Regions from separate parts of the Homo sapiens genome. Here region 2 is linked to region 1. The links are contacts of gene promoters, found by promoter capture Hi-C in blood cells and fetal thymus (Javierre and others, 2016). All regions are on one chromosome and are shown on one strand. Each heading gives the region's core, a stretch centred on a gene start or on the middle of the fragment in contact. The rest is flanking DNA. Distances are from core to core; before and after follow the strand shown.

Region 1 (2,869 bases), core at 137-2,636:
TCAGCTATGAAGTAAAAAGGAAGTCAGGGAGACCCAGGAGCCTTTCCTGAGCATTGCTGAACAAGTGCACAAACACTTCATCTTCCAAGGACAAAACAAGCATTTATCAGAGGCCTACTGGACACCCTGCCTCCACTCCTGCCCCCTCCAATCCAAGTTCCAAACTGCAGCCAGAGTGACCTTCTAAAAACACAAACTTGTCATGATGATGAAATTTGCAAAGTGCTGACTGACACTACTGGTACGTGGTAAGTACTATAAAATGCCCGTTACATAAACACAGTACATATAATGCCATTCCTTGTTTAAACCCCTCCAAGGATCACATGCAACCTTCTCTGCCTGCCTCTGCCTTCTACTTCCCACCGTGCTCTCTCTTGCTAGCCTTACTCCGGGTCGCATTTAATTCCTCCGGAGCCAAGCTACCTCCTGGCCCAACCAAATGCCTTTCCCTCTTTCCTTAAAGCAGTCTCCCCAGATCCACTCCTCTTCATTTGACCAGTTTCAACTCCTTCTTTATATCTCAGCTTAAATGCTGCTTCTTCAGCCCTCCTGAACCTCCCAGAGGAAGCTTAGGTTCCTCCATATTTATCCTCTTATAGCCATAACATTGATCACAACTGTAATCACATACTCCATGTTTTAGGTTGTTTAATGCCTGCCTCCCTTACTAGGCTGTAGACTCCCCAGGACAAGGGCTATAGGTCTTTCCGTCTCTCTTGTTTACGGCCTATCAAGGAACTCGGACAGCATAGGTCACTAATGAACATTTCCGAATGCATACAAACTTTAAAATACGGTCTTGTTTAGGTAACCGGCCCAAAGTCGCACAAATGACCCAATATTTGAACCCACGACATTCTGGCTTTGAAGCCCAAGGTCTGACTCCAGCAGACTGCCCCCTCCTCTCCCTCAAAGCCGGAGCCAAACGGTGGGCTGGGAGGGGACTTGAGCGGCAGAGTCTGAGGATCTGCAGAGGGCCACGCGCTGCAAGGCAGTCAGTGCCGCGCGCGCTGGCCTCGGGCCCAGGAGAAGGGGCATCCGTCACGTGTACCCGGCAGGGCCAGCTTTCGCCGCACCCTGGGGCAGGAATGCAGCCCCGCCCAGCTCCCGCGCCAGCAAAACCGCGCTGGCCCTGGGGACTGACGTCAATGAAGGGGGCGCCTCGGGCGCCGCGCGGGGGCGGAGAGGGCGGTGGGCAGGGCCCGGGCAGACACGCCCCCTCACCGCCGCTCCGCCGCCGATTAGGTTTGAGGAAGCTTCGCACTCCGCTTTCGAGGCCAGCGGAGGCGGGGGGCGGGGATGGACACGCCCCCTCCCTGTCTCCCACCGATGATTGGCGCACGGAACTCCGCCTTGGGTTTGGAAGGCTCGCCTGGGAGCTCATACCTGGCTAGGGCCGAGGATTGGCTGTTCCGGGGCTAGGGAGCGCTTTCTCCCGGGAACCGCGGCTGTGACCCAAGTGGCCCGGACCAGTTTGGGGCTGCGTGCGGCCTGCCTCAAGCAACCAGGTACGTAGGTCGGCGGCCCAGCTCGGCGCTGCGGTGGGAGCCGGAGGGCGACAGTCAGAGCCGGGGTGCCAGCGGGACGCGACCGCCAGATCCACTTAGGACCCCGTCGTTCTGCGAAGCGGCCACGTCTGAGTCCCGGGGCCTCCTCGTGCTGCAGATGTCGCCTTAGGACCTCGGCCAGGATACCCTCTGCCATGCTCTTGTGCTGCCCGTGATCACCGACTGGCCCTTGTAAGCACCTTCGCAGAGCTGCGCCTGCCCTTTCTGAAGGCTGTGGAAGAGGTTGGAGTGGGCGCATCTTAGCTTGCCCCATCCCCATTTGAGGTCTGTCGGAGCTGCCCTTCAGTGTGGTGAGTACCTGCTCCAATTCTCCACCGGGCAGTGGAGTGCAGAGGGTACAGAGGCTAGCTTGGGAGTCCTGACTTTGGATCCCTCCCTGCTCCTTCCACAATCTACAGAAGCAGATAGCCTCCGAAAGGCTTCTGGGACCGACCTTCCCCAGAAGACCTCCTCAGCCATCTGGCAGGAACAAAAATAACAGTGGCTTGAGAGCCCGGGTGCTGGGGTCAGACTGCCTGGGTTCATGTCCCAGCTTCCATCACCTGCCAGCTGTGTGACTTTGGGTGTAGCTTTCTCATCTGTAAAATGGGTATAACAATAGTGCCACCTTAAGTGAGGAGGAAAGAAAGCACCCATCTGAACGTGCTCTGTTCTGCGCTTGACACTGAACAAGCTGCCTCTATGATTTTAATCATAAAGCTATGATTTAAAAGTACACAGATTTGTTGATGGCTGTGATGATGAAAATGACAATGATTCTATAGCCCCTGGTAGTCAAACAGCCTTTCCCTTCATCATTTATTCATTCAACCAGCATGCATAGAATGTCTGTGGTATACCAGGTACTAGAAGGAATGCCGTCACAAACTTAATCTCCCTTTTCCTGTTAAGAGTTATTTATACTCACCATTTATTTTAAAAAGCTTATTTAAAATTTTATAGAGGCAGTCTTGCTATGTTGACCAGGCTGGTCTGGAACTCCTGGGCTCAAGCAATCCTCCCACCTCAGCCTCCCAAAGTGCTGGGATTACAGGCGTGAGCCACCAGGCCTGGCCTTATACTATTTTGATGACGAGCAACTTGTGGCAGGGGAAACTGAGACTTATCCAAGGTCACCCAGTTAGCAGCACAGCCAGAATTCAGGGTTCTAGAAATCTTGAAAGGGTTATCCCTAGATCTAGTAGCAGTTTATTTCCAGGTCATATATGAGAACTGGTCTGGGGAAAGGGCCCAGTTCCTTTCTCCACCTCCAGGGGCATGGATTTGGAGGCCAATGTATATCCAGTTGTCTCGGCATA
Region 2 (2,869 bases), core at 148-2,647, 2.7 Mb before region 1:
ACTGAGGTAGGAGAGCAGAGCCCCGAGGCCGACTCCCCGGGAAAAAAAAAAAAAGGAAAAAAGGCTCCCGCCGACCTGTGATTCACAGGAGCAAGAGGCTGGAAGGACCGCGCCTCCTGATTGGAGCAGACAGAATCAGACAAGCTTGGGGGCCGCTGATTGGCTCCGGCGTGGTCAGGCGCTGGTGGGCTGTTGTAGGTGTAAATAGCTCTTGAAGGCCCGGGTCTGTGACCGGCAGTAACCCCGGCGAGAGTGGGTGGAGAGGGAGGCGCTTCCTCTCCATTCATGTCAGCTGCCAGCCAGGCCCGGGCAGGCCGGCCCTTTAGCGGAGGGGACTGGGCAGGACGAGGCGATGGGTGTCTTCGGAGATCTTAAGCTGGGCTGAAAGTTAAACACTCACCCGCAGGGCTGAGCCAGAGCTGGCACCTTCCACACCGAGCCCCTTCCTATCTGTGACTGTTGAAAAGTTTAATGTGATGTTCTGGGTGAGGACCGAGGCGTTGGAGGTCGCTAGGAGGGTAGTTTTACGGAGTCGCGTTAATGGCTGTAGTGGGTGTACCTTAGTGACCACAGGGAGGTGGCAGCCTGTCCTCTCCTCCTCCTGGTCACCGTATTCTATTTGCGGAAAAGGTAAGAATGGAGGCTTGGATAGTCTTTCTACTAGAGATGCAACTTCTCCCACCCTCTACTCCAGGGGAAAGAGAAGTCTGTGGGGAACTGGCTTTGTAAAAAGTAGGAAAGAGGAAAGGGACAAATGGGTACACGTTAAGAAGAGGGTGACTCTCATACATTGCTGGAGAAAATTTAAAGTGGTGCAGCCACTGGGGAAACAGTTTGATGGTGCCACAAAAGGTTAAATATCAAATTAGCATCTGGCCCAGCAACTCCACTCCTAGATATAAACCCTAATAAATTATAAACGGGTACTCATATTTGCACTCAAATGTTCATGGCAGTGCTATTCACAATAACCAAAAGGTGGAAGCAACTCCAGTGTTCATCAATTGATAAATCAGTAAACCAACTGTGGTGTATTCATACAATGGAATATGAATAGGTAATAAACAGGAATGAAGTACTGATATATGCTCCAATGGGGATGAACATTGAAAGATTATGCCAAGAGAAGGAAGCCAGACACAGAAGGTCATATATTGTACGATTCCATGTATAGGAAATATCCTGAAGTGGTAAATCCACAGAGACAGAAAGCAGACTGATGGTCACCAGGGGCCGAGTGTGGGTGGGAAGATGGGGAATCACTGTTGAATGGGTTCAAGTTTTCTTTTGGGGTGAAAATGTTTTAGAACAAAAGGTAGTGTTTGCACAATGTTATGAATGCACTAAGTGCCACAGAACTGGTCAATTTAAAATGGTTAGTTCGGCCTGGCACGGTGGCTCACACCTGTAATCCCAGCACTTTGAGAGGGTGGGGCGGGCGGATCACCTGAGGTCAGGAGTTTGAGACTAGCCTGGCCAACGTGGTGAAACCCCATCTCTCCTAAAAAAAAAAAAAAAAAGAAAGAAAGAAAGAAAAAAAAAGATGGGCATGGTGGCAGGTGCCTGTAATCCCAGCTACTCAGGAGGCTGAAGCAGGAGAATCGTTTGAACCCGGGAGGCGAAGGTTGCAGTGATCCGAGATCATCCCATTGCACTCCAGCCTGGGCGACAAGAGCAAAACTCTGTCTCAAAATAAATAAATAAAATAAAATGGTTAGTTTAGCCGGGCACGGTGGCTCACACCTGTCATCCCAGCACTTTGGGAGGCCAAGGGAGGAGGATCACTTGAGCCCAGGAGTTTGAGACCAGCCTGGGCAATATAGTGAGACCCCTATCTCAATAAATAAAGTGGTTAGTTTTATATTGTGTGAATTGTCTCTCAATTAAAATGTATCTCTCTCTCTCTCTCTCTCTCTCTCTCTCTCGCAAACAAACTGACAGACTAAAAGGTGAGTCCTTCCTGCTGTCCATAATTCTCTAAGAAAGAAATAAGAAACAGCAATTCTGAGTCCTCTGCTGCCTTTCACTTCCACTTTCCTCTCTGTTTTTTGAAGTCTGGCATGGTCCTGGTTACTGACTGCTCCCCATGGAAAATGGCCAGGAGGGAGAGGGCCCCTTCCGCCCCTCTGAGAAGGTCCTCGCCTGGGCCCAGAACCACTGTGAGTCAGCCCGGCATACACACACTGAGCCTTTGTGAGCGCTCTGTGGCCAGGGTGTAGCTGGCTGGGCGGGACCGCGTGGGGGAAGGGCAGGTCCGGGTCCTGAAAGTGGGAAGGCTTCTGCCTCCAGCAACCCCAGTATGGAATCTCAACTCCTTGGAGCCTGCAATTAGGGCCTGTGGCATTTGTTCCAAAGTCAGTGTACAAGAATCAGCGCTTTGCCTGCAGCACGGAAAGTTAACTACAGGTCACAAAATATGACTCCTACTCCCTGTGACATTTCACACAGTTTGTAGCAGTGACAGAATTTAGAGCAAGACATGAGCTCATTCTGTCATTTCCAGTGCTGACTGTTTAGGGGCAGGGAGACATTTCTGAAAGAGGAAGATGCTTTTGAGGAGCTCACAATCTTATAGGAGGGTGAAGTGTAGTTTAGGAAAAGTAGACAGGAAATGTTGGGTACGTATCTATGGTTTGAGAGGAAAGCTTAAAACCCAGGTGTGACTGAATGTTAAGACGGGTCAGGAGGTGGAGTGAGCTGGGTTCTTCCGGAACAGTGGATGCATCTGCTGTTTGTGCAAAACTTAAGCTCCCTGCCACTGCCACCCAGGGAGGAGGGTCACATCACCAGGCTTTGCCTCTGAGTATAACTGAATATTGCCAGGCATACAGTTGGACATATGACAGATTACGACATATCTAGTTTGTCA

Evidence for each region. The method cuts DNA at HindIII sites, captures the fragments that hold promoters and counts their contacts. A CHiCAGO score of 5 or more calls a contact.
Region 2: a contact is called between a fragment that was not itself captured here and the fragment with the promoter of AVPI1 in region 1, in 1 of 17 cell types (M0 macrophages). The highest score is 7.6, in M0 macrophages.

What each region holds. Positions count from the first base shown.
Region 1 is chr10:97,685,758-97,688,626 of GRCh38, reverse strand. AVPI1 (arginine vasopressin induced 1) reads left to right here and starts at 1,386. Exons shown (of 3, transcript NM_021732.3): 1 at 1,386-1,861. RefSeq lists enhancers at 342-1,295, 363-1,562, 1,296-2,249 and a silencer at 1,020-1,399. The HindIII fragment of the contact is 1,235 bases long and covers 1,262-2,496 here.
Region 2 is chr10:100,370,761-100,373,629 of GRCh38, reverse strand. OLMALINC (oligodendrocyte maturation-associated long intergenic non-coding RNA) reads right to left here and starts at 54. Exons shown (of 3, transcript NR_026762.1): 1 at 1-54. RefSeq lists enhancers at 1-61, 1-432, 162-491. The HindIII fragment of the contact is 2,501 bases long and covers 147-2,647 here.